Regions from separate parts of the Homo sapiens genome. Here all the other regions are linked to region 4. The links are contacts of gene promoters, found by promoter capture Hi-C in blood cells and fetal thymus (Javierre and others, 2016). All regions are on one chromosome and are shown on one strand. Each heading gives the region's core, a stretch centred on a gene start or on the middle of the fragment in contact. The rest is flanking DNA. Distances are from core to core; before and after follow the strand shown. Region 1 overlaps SKP1 (S-phase kinase associated protein 1). Region 2 overlaps PPP2CA (protein phosphatase 2 catalytic subunit alpha). Region 3 holds the start of C5orf15 (chromosome 5 open reading frame 15). Region 4 holds the start of TXNDC15 (thioredoxin domain containing 15).

The links. Contacts are between HindIII fragments. The CHiCAGO score rates a contact against its expected background, and 5 or more counts as called.
Region 1: a fragment that was not itself captured here is called in contact with the fragment with the promoter of TXNDC15 in region 4 in 4 of 17 cell types (activated CD4 T cells, naive CD8 T cells, naive CD4 T cells and 1 more); the score reaches 6.6 in activated CD4 T cells.
Region 2: a fragment that was not itself captured here is called in contact with the fragment with the promoter of TXNDC15 in region 4 in 1 of 17 cell types (fetal thymus); the score reaches 5.0 in fetal thymus.
Region 3: a contact is called between a fragment that was not itself captured here and the fragment with the promoter of TXNDC15 in region 4, in 6 of 17 cell types (total CD8 T cells, fetal thymus, activated CD4 T cells and 3 more). The highest score is 9.0, in total CD8 T cells.

The regions. Positions count from the first base shown.
Region 1 is chr5:134,158,205-134,161,588 of GRCh38, reverse strand. SKP1 (S-phase kinase associated protein 1) reads left to right here. Exons shown (of 6, transcript NM_170679.3): 4 at 459-602; 5 at 2,994-3,134. Among named protein-coding and RNA genes, the nearest start is that of SKP1, 17 kb to the left of the region's middle. The HindIII fragment of the contact is 1,679 bases long and covers 813-2,491 here.
Region 2 is chr5:134,211,915-134,215,467 of GRCh38, reverse strand. The region is part of intron 1 of PPP2CA (protein phosphatase 2 catalytic subunit alpha); the gene reads left to right. Among named protein-coding and RNA genes, the nearest start is that of MIR3661, 12 kb to the left of the region's middle. The HindIII fragment of the contact is 1,249 bases long and covers 1,286-2,534 here.
Region 3 is chr5:133,967,548-133,971,210 of GRCh38, reverse strand. It overlaps C5orf15 (chromosome 5 open reading frame 15), which reads left to right and starts at 2,586. Exons shown (of 3, transcript NM_020199.3): 1 at 2,586-2,765. The coding sequence starts at 2,627. LOC105379183 (a long non-coding RNA gene) reads right to left here and starts at 2,522. Exons shown (of 2, transcript NR_134247.1): 1 at 2,419-2,522; 2 at 988-1,460. RefSeq lists enhancers at 2,443-2,662, 3,293-3,392. The HindIII fragment of the contact is 344 bases long and covers 1,302-1,645 here.
Region 4 is chr5:134,872,742-134,876,054 of GRCh38, reverse strand. It overlaps TXNDC15 (thioredoxin domain containing 15), which reads right to left and starts at 1,684. Exons shown (of 5, transcript NM_024715.4): 1 at 1,525-1,684. The coding sequence starts at 1,627. LOC124901071 (a long non-coding RNA gene) reads left to right here and starts at 657. Exons shown (of 2, transcript XR_007058943.1): 1 at 657-811; 2 at 923-1,224. RefSeq lists enhancers at 1,049-1,118, 1,012-1,717, 1,649-1,938, 1,959-2,008 and a silencer at 1,299-1,408. The HindIII fragment of the contact is 3,704 bases long and covers 1-2,564 here.

The DNA of each region.
Region 1 (3,384 bases), core at 403-2,902, 710 kb after region 4:
TTCAATCTAGAGAAGTATCTGTAGTGTTAGTTTTGCTTCTAGTAAAGTTGAGCGTTCCTTATGTTTGGCTATTCAGATTTCATTTATTGGCTGTACATATTAACCCATTTCTCTTTAATGATTTTTGAAAGATTTTATATTCTCTCAGCTAATCATTGTTGTACATATTGCAGGTATCTTCCAGTCATTGTCCTAACTTTTCTTTTTGCATAGAAGCTTTTTAATGTAGTCAAGTACAGTACTCTGTCTGCATGGCTTGCTTTTATCTAATAAGATCTTCTCCCTTCTAGGGTTATAATGATTCTTCAAGCTTCATTTTTGTTTTTCAAGCTTGGCTGTTAATGGCTCAAGTCAACCTCTAGCTAGTTATTATTCCAATATAGGGATAAGTTGTCCCAGCAGTGGAATGAGTACCTTGTGACAAAGTGCCACAGAGGAATGAACTTTTGTTGTTGTAGGTCATTCAGTGGTGCACCCACCACAAGGATGACCCTCCTCCTCCTGAAGATGATGAGAACAAAGAAAAGCGAACAGATGATATCCCTGTTTGGGACCAAGAATTCCTGAAAGTTGACCAAGGAACACTTTTTGAACTCATTCTGGTAAGTTTTTAATGTGTAAGATAGCTCTACTCTAGAGCCTTTAAACACTTCTTATAGATTTAAATTTGCTAACTTCATTGACACTGAATTTTAATACTCTCTAAATTCAAATGTAACGCCATATTTAAATCCACATATCAGTAACACACTAAATGTAAATGGTCTAAACACAGTTAAAAGGCAGAAATTACCAGATCAGAAAAGCAAGCTTAGCTGTGCTGTCTGTAAGAAACCCGCTTTAAATATATAGACAGAACTAGGTTTAAAGAATGGAAGAAGATACGGTACACTAACACGAATCAAAAGAAAGCTGGAGTGACTATATTAAAATAGGTTTGGAGGCAAAGAATATTACCAGGGTTAAAGAGGATTATTTCATACTGATAAGGGGATCAGTTTTTTAAAAAGACATAACAATTATAAATTTTTATCTGGCTAGAAGCAGAACTTCCAAGAAGTGAAACAAAACCCAATAGAACTCAAAGAAGTCCACAAAGTGACAATCATAGAGATTTCAGCACCTCTCTCAATTAATATAACTAGACAGAAATCAGGATAACTTGATATAACACTATTGACCAAATTGTCTTAATGGATATTTATAAAATATTATATATATATATATTTTTGAGACAGAGTTTCACTCTTGTCACACAGGCTGTGGTGCAGTGGCATGATTTTGGCTCACTGCAACCTCCACCTCCCAGGTTCAAGCAATTCTCCTGCCTCAGCCTCCTGAGTAGCTGAGATTACAGGCATGAGCCACCATGCTCAGCTAAGTTTTTGTATTTTTAGTAGAGATGGGGTTTCACCATGTTGGCCAGGATGGTCTTGAACTCCTGACCTCAGGTGATCCACCTACCTAGGCCTCCCAAAGTGTTGGGATTACAGGTGTGAGCCACCGCGCCTGGCCTAAAACATTATATGTAATGATAGCAGAATACATATTCTTTTCAAGTGTATATTACCAAATAGACCATGTTCTGGGCCATAAAACAAGTCTCAGCTGGGTGCGGTGGCTCACGCCTGTGATCCCAACACTTTGGGAGGGTGAGGCGGGTGGATCACTTGAGGCTAGGAGTTCAAGACCAGCCTGGCCAGCATGATGAAACCCCATCTCTACTAAAAATACGAAAATTAGGCCGGGCGCGGTGGCTCACGCCTATAATCCCAGCACTTTGGGAGGCCAAGGTGGGCGGATCACGAGGTCAGGAAATCGAGACCATCCTGGCTAACATGGTGAAACCCCGTCTCTACTGAAAATATAGAAAATTAGCCGGGTGGGGTGGCAGGAACCTGTAGTCTCAGCTACTCGGGAGGCCGAGGCAGGAGAATGGCATGAACCCGGGAGGTGGAGCTTGCAGTGAGCCGATATCGCACCACTGCCCTCCAGCCTGGGTGACAGAGCGAGACTTCGTCTCAAAAAAAAAAAAAAAAAATTAGCTGGGTGAGATGGCACCCACCTGTAATCCCAGCTACTTGGGAGACTGAAGCAAGAGAATTGGCTGAACCTAGGAGGTAGAGATTGCAGTGAGCCGAGATCACGCCACTGAATTCCAGCCTGGGTGACAGAGTGAGACGGTGTCTTAAAAAAAAAGTCTCCATTGTAAAAGGATTCAGGTCATACAAAGTATGTCTTCTGACTGCAATGGAATTAGAAATCACAAACAGAAAGGTATCTGGAAAAATCTGCAACTACTTTTAAACTAACACATTTGCAAGTAACCTATGGGTCAGAGAAGAAATAGAAAGTATTTTGAGCTGAGTGGAAGTAAAACACATGAAAAATCGGTGAGATGCAGCTAAAGAAGTACTTAGAGGGAAATTGATGGAATGAAATACCTATATTATTAGAAAAGAAGAAAAGTTTCAAATCGGTGATCTAAGCTTCCACCTTAAACTAGTAAAAGATGAAATTAACTACAAAGTAAACAGAAGAATGAGAATATTAAAGGGCAGAAATCAATGAAATAGAAAACAGGTAAACAATAAAGTCAATGAAACCAAAACCTGTTTTTTAAAATGAGATCAATATAGTGCTATAACTGCTTACGTTTGAACTCTTTAAGTGTGGACAAATATTTTTGCCAAGACCTGATGTGGTATTTGTGTGCATGTGTACACACATACACAACAGTAGTGGCCGTTATTTCACATTTGAGCTAGTATAGTTTGGTTAAGGAAGCAGAAGGATTCAACATTATAGAGGTATAACAAAGAAGGTCACATAAAAGTCTTTCACAGAAGAACTTAGGAGTGATTTATTCTTCTCCCTTTAATTTCTTAAAATTAGCATTTTAAGCTTTATTAGATACGGAGTGTCAATCATTAACTTTGGATTTAGTTTAAAACATCAAGTATACTTTAAGGAAAACAACTGTCTCTTTACAGGCTGCAAACTACTTAGACATCAAAGGTTTGCTTGATGTTACATGCAAGACTGTTGCCAATATGATCAAGGGGAAAACTCCTGAGGAGATTCGCAAGACCTTCAATATCAAAAATGACTTTACTGAAGAGGAGGAAGCCCAGGTAGGTAGCACACAGTTTTGTCTTTGATCACATGCTCTTAAAAAGGGAGTAACACCTATAACATGCCAGCAAAAGAGGTGACTGTATCAAGTAGTCTTGATACTTTAGGGATAATATGTACTTAATGTGTCTTAAACATACTCTTACTGTTCTGTCTTTATGAATCTGAACACTTAGATGATACTGCATTTTAAGCATAAGAACAATTAGTTTTCAATGAGAAGAGCTCTTGTTAATGTATTAACAGTTA
Region 2 (3,553 bases), core at 661-3,160, 660 kb after region 4:
GAGTAGCTGGGACCACAGGCGAGGGCTACCATGCCCAGAATATTTTTGTATTTTTTTTTTGGTAGAGATGGGGTTTCACCACTTTGGCCAGGCTGGTCTTGAACTCCTGACCTCAAGTGATCCACCTGCCTCGGCCTCCCGAAGTGCTGGGATTACAGGCGTGAGCCACTGCACCCAGCCCTACGAATAATTTTTAAAAATAAATTAGTTGGGTGTGGTGGCACACCTGTGGTTCTAGCTACTCTGTGAGGCTGAGGCAAGAGGATTGCTTGGGTCCAGGAGATCTAGACTGCAATGAGCTGTGATCATGCTACAGCACTCGAAGCCTGGGGAACAGAGCAAGAACTTGTCTCAAAAAAAAAAAAAAAAAGTAAATAAATATTAGACACTTCTCAAGCCCTAGGTCCCAATTGATTGATTTTTTTTTTCTTGGATGCAGGATTCCAAAATACTTCAAGGTCATTATTAAACATTTAAAGTTAATGTCATAATGTTAACGATGCAAGTTTAAGATGCTGATATAAAAAGAAGCTTGAGTAGTTGTCGTGTAATCTTAGGATTAAAGTATAGATTTTAAAATGAAAAACTCTTAGAAAATGGCAAGACGTGATAACTTTTCTTAATAATTGTAGGAGAAAAATTACAAAGCAAAAATGGGCATAGAAAATTTCTGGCTATATATTTAAAAAATAAGAGAAACAAAATGCCAAAAAGTTACTTAAAATAACAGTTTAAAATAGTTTATACAAATACTTCAGAACATCATCTAGCTCTTAATGATCAGATGTTCAAAAATATTCATGGACAACTTGTATAAGAGGAGAAATAACTGATGGTAAATAAACATGGAATAAAAAGTTTGTACTCAGAAATGAAAAATGCCAATTAAATTAGTGATACCACATTGTATATCTGAAATAGCTGAGAATGAGTATATTCTTTCATTTATTATTGTATAACAAATTGGCATAATTGAGTTTTATAGTACATATGAAACAAAAAAAGTTAATGCTATTTTGCCCTGTAATCCCACAATTAAAGCTTTTTGAAAGGAAATAATTCAAATGAGCAATAATACTGTACACGTATAGGTCTATTTAGAAGGGCATTATGTAGTTTTAAAAAATCACTATAATGTAGAAACGAGTTAGTATGAAACTTTAGGACACAAAATGAGATGCCAGTCAATTATAAGTAAGAGGTCTGTGTGGGTAAAAACTGAAAGGTAATAGAAATGAGAAGAGTTCTGGTTGGTAAGAATAAGATAGTTATATATCTTAAAGCTTTCAGTGAAATCTTAACCTTTTAATTTTTTTTTTAGCCTTTTTTTGTTAGTTTTGAGAGAGAGTCTTACTGTGTTGCATAGGCTGGAGTGCAGTGGCACGATCTCAGCTCACTGCAACCTCTGCCTCCTGGGTTCCAATAATTCTCATGCCACAGCCTCCCAAGTAGCTGGGATTACAGGCCTGTGCCATCTTACCTGGCTGATTTTTGTATTTTTAGTAGAGATGGGGTTTTACCGTGTTGGCCAGGCTGGTCCCAAACTCTTGACCTAAAGTCATCCACCTGCTTTGGCTCCCAAAGTGATAGAATTACAGGCGTGAGCCACTGTGCCTGGGCTTTTCAGCCTTTTTTTAATGCAAAGAATTGTGACATGGTTGTAATCATTTTGTGCTTTTATTTATTTATTTTGAGATGGTGTTGTTGCCCAGGCTGAAGTACAGTGACATCATCATAGTTCACTGGAACCTTGAACTCCTGGGCTCAAGTGATTCTTCTGCCTTAGCCTCCTTAGCAGCTGGGACCACAGAGTGCACCACCATGCCTAGCTAATTTTTATTTTTCGTAGAGACAGGGTCTCGCCACATTGCCCAGGCTGATCTTGAACTCCTGAGCTCAAGCAATCCTCCTGCCACAGCCTTCCAAGTAGCTGGTACTACAGGTGTGTACCACTATGCCCAGCTAATATTTTAATTTTTTTGTAGAGATGGGGTTTTGGTGTGTTGCCCAGGCTGAGCAGTAATATTTTGAAAGGAATCTTTTTTTTTTTTCTGAGCAGTAGGTCTCAGTAATGCACTTAAAATATTCAGTATACCGTGCTGTAAGCAGATGTGCTGTCATCCAGGCTTTGTTGTTCCATTTCTAGAGCACAGGCGTAGTAGATTTAGCATAATTCTTAAGTGCTAAAGAATGGCTTAAATGCTTTCAGAATGTTGAATGAGCCTTGGCTTCAACTGAAAGTCACCAGCTACATTAGCCTCTAACAAGAGTCAGCCTGTCCGTTGAGGGTTTGAGGGCAGGCATTGACTTCTCTAGCTAGTAAAGTCCTAAGTGGCATCTTCTTCCACTAGAAGGCTATTTCGTCTACATTGAAAACCTGTTGTTTAGTGCAACCACCTTCATCACTTATCTTAGGTAGATCGTCTGGGAAACTTGTTGTAGTTTTTATATTGGTACTTGATGCCTTATCTTGCCCTTTTATGTTATGGAAATGGGTTCTTAAATCTCATGAACCAGTCTGCTAGCTTTAAGCTTAACTTCTGCAGCTTCCTCACCTCTATTAGCCTTTATAGAATTGAAGAATTAGGACCTACCTCTGAATTAGGCTTTGGCTTTTAAGCGAATGTTGTGGCTGATTTGATCTATCCAGACCACTAAAACTTTGTCCGTATCTGCAATAAGACTGTTTGGCTTACTTACTATTTGTGTGTTCACTGAAGTAGCATTTCTAATTTCCTTAAAGAACTTTTCCTTTGCATTTATACCTTAGCAGTTTGGTGCAAGAAGCCTACCTTTAGGCCTGTCTGGAGTTTCCATATGCCCTCTCCTAAGTTTAATAATTTCTAACTTTTCATTTAAAGTGAGAGATATGCAACTCTTCCTTTCACTTGAGCATTTGGAGGCCATTGTAGGGTTATTAATTGGCCTAATTTCAATATTGTGTCTCAGGGGATAGGGAGGCCCAAGGAGAGGGAGAGACAGAATGGCCAGTCAGCAGCAGTAAGAATATATACGACATTTATTAAGTTCATTGTCTTATGGGCACGGTTGGTAGTGCCCCACAGCAATTACAATAGTAACATCAAAGATCACTGATCACATATCACCATAACAGATACAATAGTAATGAAAAAGTTTGAAATAATTTTAGAAGTACCAAGATGTGACAAAGACAAGAAGTGAGCACATGCTGGTGGGAAAATGGTGCTGATAAACTTGCTCCACACAGGGTTGCCATGAAGCTTTGATTGATTAAAAAAATGCAACATATGCAAAGTGCAATAAAGAGAAGCACAGTAAAATGAGGCATGCCTGTAGTTATTGTGTGCTCTTAAGGAAATTACTATTTTTGAGATGGAGTCTCACTGTCACCCAGGCTGGAGTGCAGTGGTGCGGTCTCCGCTCACTGCAACCTCGCCTCCCAGGTTCAAGTGATTCTCCTACCTCAGCCTCCCAAGTAGCTGGGATTACAGGTGCCTGCCACCACGCCTGGCTAATTTTTTTGTATTTTTAGTACAGATGGGGTTTCACCATGTTGGCCAGGCTGGTTTCG
Region 3 (3,663 bases), core at 224-2,723, 900 kb after region 4:
AGGCGGAGTTTCATTCTTGTTGCCCAGGCTGGAATGCAATGGCGCACAATGTCTGCTCACTGCAAGCTCCGCCTCCTGGGTTCAAGCAATTCTCCTGCCTCAGCCTCCCCGCCTCCTGGGTTCAAGCAATTCTCCTGCCTCAGCCTCCCGAGTAGCTAGGATTACAAACATTTGCCACCACACCCGGCTAATTTTGTATTTTTAGTAGAGATGGGGTTTCTCCATGTTGGTCAGGCTGGTCTCAAACTCCTGACCTCAGGTGATCTGCTCACCTTGGCCTCCAAAAGTGCTGGGATTACAGGCGTGAGCCACCACATCCAGCCTATTGTGGAAACACAAATAGTAATAAACTCTATGCATGATCCAGCTTCAACAAATATGAACATTTTTTTCCATTCATGATTTTTCAGCAGAATTCCTTTTTTTTCTATGTTTGAAAGTGACATTCAAAACAGGAACCATCTATTTTAGCATTTTATGCAACTGATCACCCAAAAACTGTGGGCCTCAGTATTTGTCATACTGTCTTCAGGGACTTGCAGCTATTTCTAAGTGAATGTTCATAGAATTTATCCAGAGATTATGGCACATAGTGGTTGCTGGGTACATCTAGTCAGATGTCAGGTACAGTATTAAGATATTTTACTTTTAGAGACAGTCTTACTCTGTCACCCAGACTGAAGTGCACTGTCATCATCATAGCTCACTGCAGCCTTGAACTCCTGGGCTCCTGTGATCCTCCCATCTCAGCCTCCCGAGTACTTGGGATTACAGGCATAAGCCTGGCCCTAAAATATTTAAAAATGTATAAAGGGTTCTCTTGAGTATGAGGGAATATTTCCCTCACTAGTTACTTATTGTCTGCTTGTTGCATGCAGCATGTTGGAATATCATTGTGCAAAATGCTTTGAGTTCATAATATCTCACCAGTTAAGAGAATTGAGACAATCTGGTATGAGGACACAAATGGACAAAGTGGACAATGAGTCAGGGAAGAGGACTGCAGTGTGTTTATTATAGATTAACTTTAAAGTCAACAAGCAGAAACTAAGATTGAGAAGCTCATTTGTTGAACTGAGTGGTTTTACAGAAAACTTAAGTACCGCTCAGAGAAGGGAAGCTCCTGGGGGACTGGGAGGACTTTGCACCTTGGCTAAAGTGGAGAGTTTGCAATAAGGACACCATTCAGTCTAATACGGGCTTCTGGGGGATTTCGGGAAATGTGCAGATGAATGACTTCTTAGTTTTCTTAACACAGAGTTTGTGTGTTTCTGAGCTGTCACCAGGGTGAGATAAAAGCTTAGGGGAAACCAGATTCAGGAGTAGAACACAGGCCCTTTAGAGAGACAGCTCAGCTGTGTCTCTGGGGGATAACAGCAATCTTCGCAGGGAATCATAGAGACCAGAATGGTGAAGCTGTGGGCACAATAAATGTCTTGCTTAACGTCACATTGATTTTCCTGAAATTGATCAAATGGAACTTTTATGAATTGAAGCCTGTATCTGTTTATTAAGGAGACATTTACAGAACGTACACACAGAGCAAAGTATGGCGCCAGGGCCCTAGGTGAACTTCTTGGAAGTTTGTAAGTTTGCATTTTTATACACTGGGGATTTCAAGTAACAAAATTTAAAAAGAGAAGCTTATTTTAGGAAATCTGAAAGTTATTTTCAATGGCAGCCCCTCACCTCTACTTCCTAGCTACCTTCCTTTCTTTTCCTCCATAATTTTTTTTTTTTTTTTGAGACGGAGTCTGTGGCCCAGGCTAGAGTGCAGTGGCATCTCGGCTCCCTGCAGCCTCCACCTCCCGGGTTACAGCGATTCTCCTACCTCAGCCTCCCGAGTAGCTGCGATTACAGGCACGCGCCACCACGCCTGGCTAATTTTTGTATTTTTAGTAGAGTCGGGGTTTCTCCATGTTGGCCAGGCTGGTCTCCAACTCCGGACCTCAGGTGATCTGCCCTCCTCGGCCTCCCAAAGTGCTGGGAGCCACTGCACTAGGGCCGGTCCATAATATCTTTATCATCTTGTATAGTGTGTATTTTACACCATATTCGCCCTCACAAGAAAATAAACTGCCAAGGCGGGCGGGGGGGTGGGGGGTTCTTTTTGTTCACTGCTGTATCTTAAATAGGGAGAGGTGCTAAATCTTTGTTGAAAAAAAATAAATGACTGTCGGGAAAGATTTTTAAAAATTACTTATAATCCCATCACCGAAATAGGACTACTTAACATTTGTGTTTCTTTCGCCTTTGAGAGAGGAAGAGCAGTTACTTCGCTTTCGTGATCAGTCTGTTCTACAGCTGGATCTTCCTTTTTAAAATGGCTAAAAACGCTATTTTTGGCTGTATAGTACCCAATCATGCAGGCGGCAGGGAGGGGCTCGCTTTGGCCCTCTTCAGCACGTCACACCCTACCTTTAATCCGCAGCCAACTGTGTGGCGGTCCCCACTTTCGCCTAGCGGCAACTCCCTCCTCCCTGCAATCCTTCCTTCTTATTCCGGTTTCCAGAGCACGTCTCCAGGCTTCGACGTCACCACGCTGGGACGTATGTGCCGAGGGCCGCGGCGTCTGACCTCATGGCGTAGAGCCTAGCAACAGCGCAGGCTCCCAGCCGAGTCCGTTATGGCCGCTGCCGTCCCGAAGAGGATGAGGGGGCCAGCACAAGCGAAACTGCTGCCCGGGTCGGCCATCCAAGCCCTTGTGGGGTTGGCGCGGCCGCTGGTCTTGGCGCTCCTGCTTGTGTCCGCCGCTCTATCCAGTGGTAAAGGGGGGCGGCAGTGTGGGCTTAGGAAGGCTAGGAGGGCTCGGGCGCAGGGCAGGAGACAGGCCGGGCCAGGGAAAGGGCGCTTCCAAGTGTCAGGAGCAGACGGCGGTGTCTGGTTGGGTCAGGGTCTCCGCGGGCCTGAGGACGGAGGGTATGGTGTCTGAAGGGGTCCAAGGTGGTAGGGTCTCCAAGGGGCCTGAGAAGCGGGGTCCCTGAGAGATGCAGGAACCCAGGGAGCAGGCAGCAGGGTGTGTAGATGGGCGGGGAGGGAGGAGTGGTGTTAGCGCCTAGAGATCGTTGAAGAATGGGCTGCCGCAAGGAATGGCGGTGGTGGGGTCTCCAAAATTTCTTGGATCGGAAAGTTAGGAGACTCTGGAAGAGAGGGTGGCGACAGGGGCTGAGGAGGTGGCCGGGGCTGGGGGTGTGGTGTCTGGAAAGGGTCCTGAGTTTGGGGGACTCAGGAATCTTGCAGGACCAAGGAAAGGTGGGGGTTTTCCAGAATGGGAGAGGTCAGTGGTAAAGACCGAGGCGGGCAGGGGCAGTAATCCAGTGACTGGACTGAACCAATGGAATATTTCCGAGAGGGAAAGTGAAAGGGAAAGAGCTGTCTTAGGGTACTGGTGCATATTTGAAGACTGGGAGGTTCTGGTGTTTGATAAAGATTCAGAGTACTGGGGCGTTGGGCCCCTGAAGGCTTGGGAGGCAGAGAGGAGTTTGGAGACAAGGGAGATCATGATTCCTCTTCCCTGTGTTCCGAGTTAACCAGGATAACCCTGCCTCGTTTTAATGCATCTGTAGGATTTGATTGATAAAATATTTCATTTCTTGCAAATGTTGCATGGTGAAATCAAGAGATTGAAGGCTTTTATTGAGAAATTAGGAAATCTGTAAACCA
Region 4 (3,313 bases), core at 435-2,934:
AAGGACTTATTGGCTCTGAGTCTTAAGTTACTTCTATAAAATGAGCATGATAACATCTACTGCATATGCATTTAAAAATTACTAAGGCCAGGCACGGTGGCTCAAGCCTGTAATCCCAGCACTCTGGGAGGCCGAGGTGGGTGGATCACCTGAGGTCAGGAGTTCCAGACCAGCGTGGCCAACATGGTGGACCATCATCTCTACTAAAAATACAAAAATTAGCCCAGTGTGGTGGCAGGCACCTGTAATCCCAGCTACTCAGGAGGCTGAGGCACGAGAATCGCTTGAACCCGGGAGTCAGAGGTTGCAGTGAGCCAAGATCGCGCCACTGCACTCCAGCCTGGGCAACAGAGCGAGACTCCATCTCAAAAAAAAATAAAAATAAAAATTACATAAACCGGGAGCAGTGGCTCACATCTGTAATCCCAGCACTTTGGGAAACAGGTGGGAGGATCACTTAAGCCCAGGAGTTCAAGGCTGCAGGGAGCCATGATGGGCCACTGCACTCCCGCCTGGGCAACAGAGCAAGCCCTCATCCCTTAAAAAAACAAAAACAAAACAGTAAAGATTCCAAAAGATGATGCTCGTAAAGCACTGAGCACAGCATCTGGTACACAGTGAGCGCTTTCATTCATGGTAATTGTGTTACTATGACTCACCCTTCTCCACAACTCTCTGCTGTCCTGCCTCCATCCAGGACACCCCAGGGAAAAGAAAGACCTGCCTATTCCTGTTAAGGTCTAAATGACAAGCGAGACCGAGGGTCTGGACTTTAACAGGACTATGAGGAGTGGGGTGAAGGAGCATGAAAGTAAGGCCTCCACTCTCCACCCTCGCCATGCCTCTAGAGTGGCTGCCTTCCCTACCGGCAAGTTGGGGGTTACCGGGAGTCTCCCGTGTTTCTCGTCTGTTTTTCATGCAGGGAGCTGAGCAAGACTGGCCTCCTTAAGACAGTGGTCCAGCAGCGTGGACTCCAGACTGGGCTTTGGCGTCAGAGAGACAGGCTTCTGCCACGTATCAGAAGCGCAAACTTAGGCGGGGCCTGAGCATCTTCATCTGTGAAATGGAGACACTAAACGGAACCGATCTGACAGGGTTTGTGGGAGCATTAAATGGGATAATGATGTAAATAAAGCACGATGCACAGTTCCTGGCTCCTAATACGGCCACAACAATGTCGGTATTTGATATAATGTTATTAATAATAAATTGCTTATCACCAGAGGGTATGCCTCAGCAGCGCTTACCGCACTGTCCCTCCTGGCTACCAGCCACGGGCTGAGGGCGGCCTGAACGCGGCCCAACCACCCCCGGGCTCCCGTCCACCGGCCCTCAGCCCACCGGCCCCCTTTCGCGGGCCACCAGCGGGCGGTGCGCGGGGAGAGAAGTCGGGGAGACGCGCCCGGGGAGACGCCAAGAAGGGGCGAGTCGCGCACCGCCGGCCTTCGCGCAGGTCCAGAGCGTCGCCCGGGTGGACCTCAGCTCGCCCCATCATCTCATGCACCGCCCCCGGCCCACACTCACCCTCCACGCCGCGGACGGGAAGTCCCAGCACCCACAGCAATACTTGCCACCAGCCGAGGAGCCGCATGACGCGGGGCGGTCGTCGACCGGCAGCCGGGACCATTGCCCAGGCCGAGAGGCAATCGGCGCACGGCTACGCGAGTCGTGCTGCCAGCCGGAGGAAGGCTGGGGGAGGAGAGCCTGGGAGCGCGGGCGCGGCCCCGCGCCGCCATCTTAACACCTGGCAGCTGTGGCGGGCGCCATCTTGGAGTCGGGCGGACGGCCTCTAGCCGCTGGCCGTCGGCGCTGGACTGGAGACCTCTTTAGGAGCTAAGCGCCAGACGTTGCAGGTCGTTTTGAACTCTGCTGACCCCAGAGTGCAGAGCATGGCTCTGGCAGAGGCCCATGGCCTCCTTTCTTCCCTCGGAAGTCAGAGCTTGGCTACTTGAAGCACTGCGCCCGCCTAAGGAGGGTTTTCCACGCTTCATTCCCAGAGCCAGAAAGGCCCAGGAGCCTTCCTGTTCTAGTGTCCCATCGAGGTGCAGAAACTTTGGAGGCTGCAAATCTTCTAATCGCTTGCCTAACCTGTGCTCCCCTACCTAGGGTTGCCACATAGAATACCTGATACCCAGTTATATTTGAATTTCACATAATGAATATTTTTTACTATAACCCTTATAGTATAAGGGATATACCTTAAAACTGAGCATCCTGTAACTTCGTGACATCTGGCAACCCTAACCCTACCTATCCACTCAGGGCAGGAGAGGTTGGTTTTAACTGATTTACCTTGCAGGGCAATCTCTTTTTAATCATGGTTGGGGCCGTGAGCATCATTGGCTCTGGCTCATGGTGGAGGTGGAGCCACCTCGAGCATAAAGTAGATAGGAAAGGGCTTAGAATGAAGAAAGCATAGATGGGGAGATGAGGAACAGGGCTCTGCATTCCCAAGCAAACGCACAGAGCGGGAGTCTTAAGAGAAAATTCTTGGAATAGAGAGGATGACACCACTAATTGGGGTATTTTGCCGGGGGGCCTGCTAAAATGGAATAAGGCAAGCTTTAAGCAGCCACCAGTCAGTGCTAAATCAGTGCAGAGTGCAGCTTTTCAAACTTATGAGGTTGAAAAAATAGAAACTGATTTAAAATACATCAGTCTATTGGTTAACATAGCAATGGTAAGGGGAACCTGTGCTTTTTGGCCGCTTGGTGAATCCCAACTTCAGCACATGTGATAGTTCACAGTCAGCAGGTTATGTAACTTAAAGTTAAGTTTCTTCAGCTGTAAAGTGGAAATGACGTTATATAGAGTCTTATAGATGAAATGAGATGTAAAGTGATGAGCACAGTGTCCTGGGGCACAGGAAGCATTTCAAAGTGGTAGGCATTATTAATTGAATAATACAATTCTGATGGTGTGGCCATAGTCCCCTTATCTCTATGCCCATCAAAAAGACACTGTTAGGCCAGAAAGATGCATCATTAATCTGTCCCTGTGGATGATTCTTTTATTCTAAATACGTTGGTATGGTTTTGCTGTTGTAGATCCTCAAGTGCCATCTTGTGGGTCCAGAAGAATATGAAACAATGGACATGGATAAAAGAGCCCACAGTTCTAGAGCTTATTACTAGTCATCATTTCGCTAAGTACCTCCCTCACCCCTAACAGTGGAACAACAAACCTTTCCTTTTTAAACTATCTTTCTCATACCCCCATACATGATTTGAAGGTGCATGAAAAGCCAACAGGACAGAGCACCAAAAGGATTTATGACTAATGAAAAGGAAGCTGATCTGGATACTCCAACATG